3 separate regions of the Homo sapiens genome follow, and regions 1 and 3 are each linked to region 2. Evidence: promoter capture Hi-C in 16 types of primary human blood cells and fetal thymus (Javierre and others, 2016). All regions are on one chromosome and are shown on one strand. Each heading gives the region's core, a stretch centred on a gene start or on the middle of the fragment in contact. The rest is flanking DNA. Distances are from core to core; before and after follow the strand shown. Region 1 overlaps SLC26A8 (solute carrier family 26 member 8). Region 2 holds the start of BNIP5 (BCL2 interacting protein 5). Region 3 overlaps MAPK14 (mitogen-activated protein kinase 14).

Region 1 (4,123 bases), core at 126-2,625, 330 kb after region 2:
AGGTGGTGTTGTAATCAAAGACCTGGGTGGTACTTACGTAAGTGTTTGTTTTATAAATATTAAGTAACCTTGACATCTATTAATCTATTTTAATGCATTTTCTACATGCATGTTATATTTCACAATAAAAATGGAGATTACTAAATTAATTACCAAAACTATTACTAAAGTAATTAGAGCAATTAACACAGTACAATATTGCAGAGATAGACAATTAGGCCAATGAAACAGAAAAAAGAGTCACACGTATATGAATCACATGATGTGTATCAGATATGTCACTACAGAGACAGGCTGTTAATGACAAATGATGTAAAACACTTGGGTCTCTATAAAGAAAAACATTTCAGGCCTTTACCTCACACCATACACAAAAATCTATTCCTGGTTGATTAAAGACCTAAATGTAAAAGTTAAAGCAAAAAAGACATTTTGGAATAACATAAGAGAATATCTTTATGATCCTGAGGTAGAAAAAGGTTTCTTAAGTAAGACACCAAAAGCAAAAGGAAAAGCCCAAAGGAAAAGACCGATAAATCTGAGGTAAGTACAATTTAAGAACTTCTATCTATTCAAAGCTGCTATAAAGTTTGAAAAGCGGCCAGTCACACTGATTTATGCCTGTAATCCCAGCACTTTGGAAGGCTGAGGTGGGTGAATCATTTGAGGTCAGGAGTTTGAGACCAGCCTGGCCAACATGGTGAAACCCCGTCTCTACTAAAAATACAAAAATTAGCCGGGCATGGTGGCGTGCGCCTATAGTCCCAGCTACTCAGGAGGCTGAGGTGGGAGAATCGCTCAAACAAGGAGGTGGAGGTTGCAGCAAGCCAAGATCATCACTGCACTCCAGCCTGGGAGACAGAGAGAGATGCCATCTCAAAAAAAAAAAAAGATTGAAAAGCAAATCACAAAATGGGAGATACTTGCAAAACAATACGCAACAAAGGCTTTATTTATAATATACATACTCCTATAAATCCATAAAAATAACTAGACAAGGGTGCTCAACATTATTAGTAATAAAATGGAAAATGAAATTGAAATGAGTTACCACCATACACACTAAAATTAAAAATCTAGCAGTATCGAGTGCTAGCATAGATGTGGATAATGGGAACTGTCATACATTACTGGTGGGAGTATAAATTGCACAACCATTTGGAAAACAGTTTGGCACTATTTAGTAAATGCCCCAGAAGTTGAAATTCAAGCTATATATTCTCAAGAAACTTGTAAATCCATGTACCAGGAGACATGTACAAGAATATTCATAGCAATATTGTTCATAATAGCCCCAAACTGGAAACAAAGACAGGATACCATGAACCCTGGAAACAAAGAGAATGGGAAGGTAGCAACCTTGGATTCTGATGGCTTTTTAGTTCGGTTCCAGTCTCTGATGAGGTCTAACTGCCCTTTGTACCCTTTTAATAAATTTCCTATTTTGCTTAAGCTAATTTGAGTAGATTTTCTGTTACTTGCAATCAATAGAGCCTTGCATAGGGGAAAAAATGTGGTGAAAAAATCCTATAGATTACAAGAGACTTAAGAGACATATCAACCAATGTGAGGACCATATTTGGGTTCTGATTTAGACACACAGATTGTGAAGCAAAGCACAACATGTAACAGCAAATAATTTTTTAAAGATCACCCCAAAACTCATCATACCTCTGGTTCGAGGTCTCTCGTGAGATTGCAGTTATCTCAAGGGTCTACTGAGGCTGGAGGATCTGCTTCCAGGCTCACTCATGCAGCTGTTGGCAGGCCTGAGTTCCTCCCCATTCTGGCTTCTCCATATTCACAACATGGCAGCTGGCAGGACCAACTATATGTGTTGGGCCCAATACAAAATAAAAACACAGGGCCCTTAGTTCAAAAATTATTCAGAATTTCAAGACAGTGACAGCAAAGCATTAAACGAAGTGCAAAGTCCTTCTAAGCCCAGGACTCTGTCTTGACTGCATAGATTACAAACCTTTGAAGCCACCTCTGGCAGGTAATGACCTGAATGAGAGAGCAACCAAGATGGAAACCAAAGTCTTTTTGCAACCTAATCTCAGAAGTGACATCCTGTCATTTTTGTTATAGTCTACTCCTTAGAAACAAATTGGTTAAGTCTATTCCACACTTAATGGGGAGGAAATTGTACAAGGGCAAGAAGACAATTGGCCTGGCTGGGCGCGGTGGCTCACGCCTGTAATCCCAGCACTTTGGGAGGCCGAGGCGGGTGGATCACGAGGTCAGGAGATCGAGACCATCCTGGCTAACACGGTGAAACCCCATCTCTACTAAAAATATAAAAAATTAGCCGGGCATGGTGGTGGGCGCCTGTAGTTCCAGCTACTCGGGAGGCTGAGGCAGGAGAATGGCATGAACCCAGAAGGTGGAGCTCGCGGGGAGCCGAGATCGCGCCACTGCACTCCAGCCTGGGCAACAGAGCAAGACTCCGTCTCAAAAAAAAAAGAAAAAGAATACCAACTGGCCATTGTGGATCATATTAGAGACCCTCTACCACAACAATCATTTGTAAGATAATCAGGGAAATTTGAACACTGAGTGGATAATGATGATATTGTACTTAAATTAGAAGAGTATTATCATTTAGAGACACATACCAAAATATCTACAGATTAAATAATCGAATGCCTTGGATTTGCCTCAAAGTAATATAGGGTGAGAGAGGAGTAGAAGCATAGATTGGTTATGGGTTAACCATTGTTGAAGTGGATGATGGGTATATGGAATTCATTATACTCTATTTTTGGATGTGTTTGAAATGTCTTATAAAAAGGAGCCTTGCTTATCTAAGACAATAAACCACCTCACTAAATTCATAACTGAATTTAGATGAGTATATCAGTATGATGTAAATTGAGGACAGACTCTTAGGGAAGGAAATAGGGGCTTGAAACATCAAAAGGATGACACTATGCCTGTTAGTCCATTTGCTTCAAAATTTCCAAATTCTCATGGTGCTTCTTAGAAAAGAAAGTAAGTATTAGAGAAGCAGCTGAAGGAAGAGGCTGGAGTGATTGGCCTATGGAAGAGAACCAACACATACCAACTTCAAGTCAGTGAAGTGTGATTCTTGCCTTGCTCTCCAGTTTTATCTTCAGCCCTGGAGAATTCCCACGGCCTGCTTGTGCTAGACTAGGCATAAGGATGGGGCTGCTTTTGAGCTGTTGGAATTAGGGGTCTTATTGCTATGGTATTTGCTTTACATGTTTAGTATTAAGACCTTGCAGTGAATGATGTTTCAGCCTATGATATTGAATTAAAGTGTAAAAGCATGTGGCAAAATAGGAAGAGAAGCTAGGAATCAAAGAAGATAATAAAAAGTGCTAATGAAGGATTGTATGTCCAGAAATACTATTACCACACTCAGTCAGCTATACACATGGATGATTTTTATTTTAAATATTCTTTACAGTTTTTATTTAAGGTGACTTTTAAAGACAAGCTGCTTTTTCTTAAATTATCTTGTTTTTCAGGCCTGACACTTAGTTTGCTGGCAAGGCAACTGATTCCTCCTCTCAACATCGCTTATGCAGCTTTCTGTTCTTCGGTAATCTATGTAATTTTTGGATCGTGTCATCAAATGTCCATTGGTGAGTTCAGCACTGAAATACACATGCGGTGGATGAAGTTTCCATCTTGATCATATACTTATTGCTAAGGTACCCAACATAAAGCTTTAAGATAGAAAGAAAGGAGGCAGGAGGTGGACATTCTATCCATACAGTTAGTGTTCAGATTGTAGAAATAAATACTTCTAGTGTATCATTATTGTCAACACCAGAAAACAGGCCAGCAAGATGTTTCCCAAAGAAATTAAAGGGCAGAGGTACTTTCCTTAAGAAATCATCACACATTGGAATCTGACTTCCCTCAACCCAGAAGATGCAGGAATGATTGTGTCAATACTCCTAGAGCAGATACTTCTTTCATCTGAACCATAATAACCAAACTCCATGGGCTGACTTGTAATACAGCATGCCAGCTTATTAATTTACAGTGAGAAAATGTTATCACAGTAATCAAAACACTGACATCCATAGGATAAGTACTTCCCTTCCCTGAGTCAAAAGTCCATCTACTAATTTATAATTAGAAATAACTA
Region 2 (4,308 bases), core at 86-2,585:
ACCATGCCTGGCTAATTTTTAAAATTTTTAGTAGAGATAAGATCTCACTATGTTGTCCAGGCTGGTCTTGAACTTCTGGGCTCAAGCAATCCTCCTACCTTGGTCTCCCACAGTGCTGGGATTACAGATGTGAGCCACCATGCCTGGCCTTCTTCTTTTCTTTGTAAGCATTATCGCATTTGGCCCAACTACCCTCTGAGATGACTACTTGTTTTATAAGTGAGCACAAGCTCAGTGACATCATGTCCCCTGCTGTGGTTACACAGCTGGCAGGTGTCTCCAGATGGGGCTGACTCCAAAGTTTGGTGCTTCCATATATATTTTGTGATGCCTCCCTGTGTTAATGAACCAAAACAGAATTTCTTAATATTTTTTTCTTTTTTTTTCTTTTTTTTTTTTTTTTTTTTTTTGAGACAGAGTCTCACTCTGTCACCCAGGCTGGAGTGCAGTGGCACGATCTCAGCTCACTACAACTTCTGCCTCCTGGGTTCAAGTGATTTTCCTGCCTCAGCCTTCCAAGTAGCTGGGATTACAAGTGTCTGCCACCATACCTGGCTAATTTTTGTATTTTTAGTAGAGATGGAGTTTCGCCATGTTGGCCAGGCTGGTCTCGAACTCCTGACCTCAGGTGATCCGCCTGCCTCAGCCTCCCAAATTGCTGGGATTACAGGTGTGAGCCACCGTGCCCGGCCTTTGCTTTCATTTTAATAAAACATGTTTTTCTTTTCTGATTATAAACATGTATTTACACTCTATTTTTTAAAATAAGGCATTACAGAAAGTGGAAATCTGACTTTTTAAGACTTCTTAGAATGTTCTCTCAAGATCCATGGCAACCCTTCCCGGGCATAGCAGATCTGGAACACGTGGCTCTTGTGGGCTCTTCCTTCTGGGTTGTCTCCAGGTCAAGGGATGTATGTATCCCATCGCTGACCTTTCTTTCTAGGTACCTCCCTCCCCACTAATCTTCAAAGATAACTGAGGGATGTTGTAAAGGCAATAAAGCCACCTCGACTTTCTCCCCCTAACCTGCATTTCCCATTAAGTCTTGTTTTCAACTCTACAGGTGGGGTTTTCCCCAGCCAGACCTTAGGTTATTTTCTGAGCTTTGGTTTCTTACTGGGGTTTGGGTGCAATAAGGAAGTTGACAAGTGAAACTGTTTTTTCCAGGGTAGCTGAGCTAAGCCTCTTATCATTGGAGGAGCGGGGAGCAGTCCTGGGATGGGTGGTAACAGGTGGAGGAAGGTGAGCCAGCCCATGGCTCTCTGGATTGGCTGCCATGAGCTCAGTTCCTGGGAGATACTGTATATATGGACGGCCAAAGCATCTTCTGAGACACTCAGAAAATTGCCAGCACCAAAGTAGTGGCATCTTCTCCCTGGGAGAGCTGGGTCTGACTTCTCACTGGACACAACTTCCAGCTGACAGGGAGCAGAGCCTAACACAGAGACCTCTTGTCTGAAGATCCCAGCCCAGGGTGTTCAGGACAGAAGCGATTTCTGTGGTCCAAGGTTGGTTGAACAATACCCTCTCCTTTGGGGGCGGGAGCAGTGGGTATGTATCTTGGGGTCCGGAGAAGAGTTTAGTCCTGGGTGTCAAACCAAGAGTCCAGTCCCAATGCTGCTTCCAGCATGCTGGGCCCTCCCAGAGAGGCAATGGGGGTGGAGGTGGGGGATCAGTTTTCTTATCTCTAAAAAGAGGGAGCAAGGTTCAATGACATTATCTCAACGGGGTGTTTCTCAAAGGGCTCTGGGCTCACTCGGACTTAAAACTCTGTATTCAAGTCCCAATCCTGCTTATTAGCCGCCACCCTGAGCAAGGAACTTCACTTCCTTGGGCCTCAGTTTTCTTGTCTGTAGGATGGGGCAGCATTACATAGCTCACCTGCTAGTTTCCCTCAGGATGTGGTAGAGGTCAAGTTATAGACTTTATGTGAAGGTACATGAGGGAACCCCCTGATAAATGAGAGGTGTTATTATGACCTATGGTTAAATTAAGGTTCTATGAGTTTTAAGGTTTTTGGAAGTTAGTCCAAGAATGGGGAAATCTTATTAAAATAACTCATGGTCTACTGCTCTCTTGGATGGGAATGTAGAGGCTGGGAGGTGGATTATAACCCACAGTCCTGACCGACTCCTCACACAGTGTTGCATTGCCCGTGGTCTTGGATAGAGGACAGAATGGGGTGGGGAGGGCATGGGTGTCTATACCTAGGCACACGTGATTGTGTGACTCCATGTGCATAGGTCATGGTAGGTGTGTATGTGACTGTGATTACCTCCATCAGTGTGAAATAGCAGGTTTCTCCCCTAAGTCCATGTGTAAGTGCGTGCATGTGTATCTATGCTTACATGAGGCCATTTGGTGTAGAATAGAGAATGTAGGATTTGAATCGGGAGAAGTGGGAGAGTCTCAGCTCTCTGCTTCCCGGCTATGTGACCTTGGGCGTGTCTCTTAATGGTCCGGAGCCTCAGTGCCCCACTGTTAGCCCATCTGATTCACTGCTCCTGGCAAAGATGAAATGAGATCATGTCAATGAAACGGCTCTCTGGACGCCGTGTGGCTGCATGAAGGTGAGCTGGTTTGGGTTTGCACATGCCTGTGTATCATTTGTTTGTTTCACAAACACTGAGAGCCTCCCAGGCTCAGGTCCCCTCTCATGGAATTTAGAGTTAGGACCGATGGCAAGCGGTGAGCTTGGTCACATAATTATTCCCTTACACTTGGGACAGGAGAAATACAGGGCGTCTTGAGTCCATGTTGGTCTGTGGTGTGCACAAGTGTGTTCTGGTGACACGTGGATGTCTGTGGTGTTGACTGTGGGTCCACGTGTGTGTGCCACACACTCTGTCCCTCAGGGTGCTGCTGTGGGTGTGCAGCAGGTTGGCTCTCTGTGAAGTTTCTATTGTGTGAATCATGGGGTGGAGAAGGGGAGCCGCGAAGTTATCTCCATGAAAGGCACCAGAGCAGTTAGAGAGTAACGCGGCCAGGTGAACAAATTAGAGAACAGCATAGAGATGAGGTCACCGTGCAACTTAGAAAGTAAACAACACACAGCAGCAAGCTTGGGGAAGGCAAGCAAACTTCCCGTTCCAGGGTCAGCTTTGTGAGCCTTCTCTGGTTCTTTGTTGCTGTTGCTGGACATGTCACCGGTAAATGTCACATCTTATCAGAAGCAGTCTTGTGATGTGCAGATCACTTGGGTATTTCTGAGCTGATTTGGACTTTGCTCTGACATCCACTTTCGGCCAAGGCAATAACAAGTTTACAAGATCAGCTGGGTTTCCGCATAGTGAGACCACGCTGCTCACTTAGGATTCCTGGTCTGGAGCACAGTCTGCACAGGGTGGGATTCCCTGGTGGTCGGACTGAACGTAGTTGAGCACCTGGGGCACAAAACAAAAAAAGAAGAAGAAAGGAAAGGAAAGTCTTGCTTTGATAAATCCTGGATAGCAGAATTTTATATTTGGAAAGTCTTGAACGGTTTAATTTTGGCACATGTAGGAAAGGGGAGGTTATTAGGATTAAAAGACAAGCTTCCCAGGGCTTAGAGACTGAGGACACCCCATCCGCAGAGGTTCTTCAGGGGTCTTCCTGGGGGCGTGTGGGTGTGTCTTCCCCAGTCAGCCGCGCTGTCTCAATCCCTGGCCTAGAGCTGAAGACAATCTTTGGAACATTACAGAGGAGGAGCAGTTGGAGCGGGGGAGAGGGAGGAGAGAGCTGGACTGAGGACAGTCACAGCCACCCAGAGAGGAAAGAGAAAAGAAGGAAGTAGGGCTGGTATCAAATACTGAAGCACGTAAGGGAGGACAAGACATGGGAAGAGGCCACTGGATTTGGAATTAGGAAACCTTGGGAGACCCTGGAATCTCTTCACTGGGGAAACTCTTGGATAGCAGAGGCCCCCTTCCTGCCTGCCTCTGGGCTCAGCAGCAGCAGCTGCGGGGGCTCCTGGCCTTAGTTCCTCTCATCTCCCCGGGGGCTCAGGGCACCGGTTATTCCAGGGAGGGAGCGGCCAAATCACCGCAGCTTTCCTGAAAAAACATCAGGGAAAGCATGTGCTGGTGGGATTGTGTTAATGTTCTGATCAGGAGGAGCAGCGTGTCCTTGGAATGTGGTAGGAGGATACTGCTGCCATTGGCAATGGCGAAAACCGTTTCCATAGCAATGACAGCTTTTTAAAAGATTACTGCATCTCTCTTCCCGTTAACTGGGTAAGGAAGCGCCGGTCCTCCGTGCGATGGGTCCCATGGAGCCAAATCTGTGCAGACGGAAGAGAGGCTGAGCTGAACAAGAGTGTCCTGGTTC
Region 3 (4,077 bases), core at 568-3,067, 280 kb after region 2:
CAATAGCATACAATCAAAATAAAATGTGAAAATAAAAAGCAGCAGCTGTGATTATAATGGCATCCATAATCCAATTACAAATTTAAGTCTTAATGTTCTCAATTTAGAAGAAATTTGCACTAATGAAACAAATGTACGCTAATGAAGAGTCACTTATCTGTGACTTTTTTCTCGCTATGAAGAAGTTAAATTACTAAAACAGTCTAAATAGTCAAATAATAAATTCACAGATTTTGAATTTTCTTCCACAAGGTAACAAGCAGTACAGCCAGAGGACTTTGAAATCTCTATGGCCATTGTTTCCACAATGCTACAAACTTCACAGTACCCTTCATATAGCAGTCACAGAAATTCATAACTTGATTTTGAAATTCAGTAAAATAAGTGTCTTCAGTCAACTGTCTTTTTACTTTCAGTTAGTATTCCAATTATATCCACTTATTTATCGTATTAGAATTTGTAAGCATCTTTGCAGAATGGCAACTGAATCAACAAATTGGTAAAAAAGAAAAAGTTATATTTAACTTAAACAATGCCTCTGACATATTTATTAAAATACGTGAATCTGGAAAAAAAGAAAAATTATTAACAAATATATAAAATAATAGCCATCTCTGATAGGACTTTCAGTGAGCCTAAGGCACTCTTTCTCAGATTTTTCCACTTAAAAATATTAAGGCTATATTATGAGAATATGGGAGTCTGTGGCTATTTTGTCTTTTAATAGCCACAGACTCCCATATTCTCATAATATAGCCTTAGGAAAACCAGGCAAAGAATACATAACTTCTTTTTAATATTTTCTCTTAAAAATTATTGTGAATTTTGTGTTGTATTTCATAACATATCCTTTAATTTTAAAATTTTAAAGAGTTCTTTCTCCTCTAAAAATCTTTGAGTAAAACTAAAACTCCAGGAAGATGCATCACTTTCATTCCAAGTCTTTGACCTGACATAACCAAGTGGCCACTAACACCCCAGGACAAGGAGCAGGGACCAACGTTTGATGCACTCCAGCGTATTTCCATCTGCAGTAATTAAAACATTTTTCCCCAGTCTATTCAAGATCAAAATGTATTCTTCCTTGAATGAATAACTTACATTTTCATGTTTCATATGTTTAAGTAACCGCAGTTCTCTGTAGGTTCTTTTCGCATGAATGATGGACTGAAATGGTCTGGAGAGCTTCTTCACTGCCACACGTAACCCCGTTTTTGTGTCAAAAGCAGCACTAAGGAGAAAAAAGGGAAAAAACCCACCATTAAAAAGCTGTTCTAAATATTATTTTGGGGTATTTATAAGGCTATTTCCAAATTAAAGGGTCTATAACAAAATACCAAAAAAAAGCATAAAGATAAAAAGCAAAATGACCTATTATCCCATTATCCAAATAAAGCTTCTGTTATTATTTTTGGTGTTTTCTCCTTGTCTTTTCTATGTATCTAAATCAGAAGTCAGCAAATTTTTTTCAATGAAGGGCCAGATAGTAATATTTTCAACTTTGTAAGTAAGACCTCTGTCACAACTACTCAACTCTGTGGTTGTATGAGGAAAGCAGCCAGAAAATAAGTTTTAAAATGGGTGTGGCTGTGTTCTAATAAAATTTACAAAAACTGGCAGCTGCCTGATCTAGATGAGCCAACAGATTAATAAACAGAGTTGAATTCTGTCTTCCCTGCCTAGGCCTCACTGTCGTCACCTTGCCACATCTGCTGCCTGCTCAGAGTCGAGGCCCAGGAAACCATGTTTTCAGGACAATAAATTGCCACAAATATTTCTTGAGCACCTACAAAGTACTTGGCACCTTCAGGGAATGGGGGAAGAGCAGAACAGAATAATAAAATAATTTCAAGTAGTGATGAAAATACTATGACTAAATAAAAGGGTAATGGGATAAAGAGTGACAGAAAGCCAGTGGAGTTATACCACTTTAGCTAGGATGGCTGAGGAATGACATCTGAGCTGAGAAGGAAACAATATAATGATTAAATTCCCTATATAAATATATAAGAAAAAGAGCTTCAAGCAGAAGAAATAATAATAATATTAATGTTTATAGAGTCTTTACCCACACATACAAGAAATTGTTCTAAGCCCTTTACATTTATTTGTCTCAATTCAGCTTTTGTATTTCCCCGAATCCCCTATGAAATAAGTACTATTATCATTCTCCCACTTACAAGTAAGAAACTGAAGCAGAGAGAAGTTAGGTAACTTGACCACGGTCACAAAGCTTAAAAGCGGCAGAGCAGGGAGTCTGGATCCAGAGCTTATGCTACTGACCACTTGACTCTGCTATCTCTCAGAAGAGCAAGTGCAAACAAACGAAAAAAGAAACAGAGGTAGGAAACGTATGGCATGCTGGAGTGAGTGACAGAAAGACAGAAAGGCTGTGTGGGTAGAGCACAGGGAGCAAGGGGAGAGTGGGAAGGGATGACGTAAGAGATGCAGGCAGCAGCTAGATCATGGAGGACATCTATAGCAAAAATGCGATGTGTATTTTAATTATTTTTAGAAATCGTCGCCAGGCACAGTGGCTCATGCCTGTAATCCAGCACCTTGGGAGGCCGAGGCGGGAGGATCACGAGGTCAGGAGCTCGAGACCAGTCTGACCAAGATGGTGAAACCCCATCTCTACTAAAAATACAAAATTAGGCGCAGTGGCAGGTGCCTGTAATCCCAGCTACTCAGGAGGCTGAGGCAGGAGAATCACTTGATCCCAGGAGGCGGAGGTTGCAGTGAGCTGAGATTGCACCATCGCACTCCAGCCTGGCAATAAGAGTGAAACTCGGTCTCAAAAAAAAAAAAAAATAGTAATAACAGAAATTGTCTGGGCCAGTTCCATTATGCCTCATCCTCCAGTTTGTCTCAGTCTCTAACATGTATCCAAGACTTTCTGGTCATCTGTTATCACCAAACTCTCTGCCTGCCAAACTTGCTTTTACAACTCTGTACCTACTCCAGTGCCCTTCCTTTCACTCCCAAACTTTTATGGCATACCCTCAATCTTCAAATCCCAATTTGTGATAAACTCCTATAAATCTTCAACCTCTTTTCTGAACCTCCCCTCCATCTCTGAAACTAGGCCATTTCTAGAAGACACTGCTTCTCTTATAGCCCTGCCATTAGAAAGCATTCTCTAATAGCCCAGATACCTCCTGGCTAGCAGGTGCGTAGGAGTCTTCCTTGGCAGCCGTTACCACTTCAGGACCATTACTTTCCGTTTGTTCTATAAAATACCTCCTGCTCACAACCCTGATAAACTATCCCTCTCTGCTGCAGGTATCCACTGACCTGAAATTTTCCATCATTCATTGAAAAGTTAGTTTCTATCCAGAAGATCTCTCTACACTCTCAACTTCTGTCATCATTCTTGGCAACTTCAACATCCAGGTGAACGGCACACCCAACATCCTGTTTCCTGACCTCTCTAGGAAACTCCACCACACCCAGCCATCTTCATGGTCACATTCTAGACCTTTATTCCTACCAAAAACTGCCCCACCTACAAAATTTTGAATGCCAGCAGCATTTGCTTTTCATCAAAAACCTAGTTACCTCTAGTTTACTTGTACCCTGACTACAACAATTTGTTAACCTCATTGTCATTGCTTGTTTCTATCCTTCAGCCCTCTTCTGTCTTCATCTCCCTTCCTGTTCCATGATTATAATCACTCCCTTGCACTTCTCTCTCTCTGTCTGTCTGTCTCTCTGATGTACTCACCTGGATAAAGTCTAACCTTGGGTAATCTCAACCACTTAATTCTCCATGACTGAATCCAAGGAACTGAGGTTGAACAAGAAAGACTGTAGAATCAGATTTTCATTCTTAGTTTCTGACCTTAATCTCAAAGAGGCTCTCAATAAAGCCATTTTCTTCTAGTAAGTTCATTTTCCTACTCGAAAATGATCGTTTGACATGTTCTCTCTCAAATCTCCAATTCACCCTCTTCCCTCAAGAGTTGCCCTTGCCTTCACTGAGAAAACAGAAACCATCAGGAGGGGAGCTCCATTTGCTTAGCCCCAAATCTATAAACCCATCGTCTCCACCTTCCCTCTTGCTATAACTAAGAATAT

What was found. The method cuts DNA at HindIII sites, captures the fragments that hold promoters and counts their contacts. A CHiCAGO score of 5 or more calls a contact.
Region 1: a contact is called between a fragment that was not itself captured here and the fragment with the promoter of BNIP5 in region 2, in 2 of 17 cell types (total CD8 T cells and naive CD8 T cells). The highest score is 5.8, in total CD8 T cells.
Region 3: a fragment that was not itself captured here is called in contact with the fragment with the promoter of BNIP5 in region 2 in 1 of 17 cell types (total CD8 T cells); the score reaches 5.1 in total CD8 T cells.

The regions. Positions count from the first base shown.
Region 1 is chr6:35,999,480-36,003,602 of GRCh38, reverse strand. SLC26A8 (solute carrier family 26 member 8) reads left to right here. Exons shown (of 20, transcript NM_052961.4): 4 at 3,495-3,611. It overlaps LOC105375034 (a long non-coding RNA gene), which reads right to left. Exons shown (of 4, transcript XR_926746.3): 2 at 1,672-1,828. Among named protein-coding and RNA genes, the nearest start is that of SLC26A8, 23 kb to the left of the region's middle. The HindIII fragment of the contact is 4,645 bases long and covers 1-3,697 here.
Region 2 is chr6:36,333,915-36,338,222 of GRCh38, reverse strand. It overlaps BNIP5 (BCL2 interacting protein 5), which reads left to right and starts at 1,335. Exons shown (of 12, transcript NM_001010903.5): 1 at 1,335-1,511. The HindIII fragment of the contact is 11,027 bases long and covers 1-3,066 here.
Region 3 is chr6:36,049,853-36,053,929 of GRCh38, reverse strand. MAPK14 (mitogen-activated protein kinase 14) reads right to left here. Exons shown (of 12, transcript NM_139012.3): 2 at 1,102-1,231. Among named protein-coding and RNA genes, the nearest start is that of MAPK14, 24 kb to the right of the region's middle. The HindIII fragment of the contact is 837 bases long and covers 1,399-2,235 here.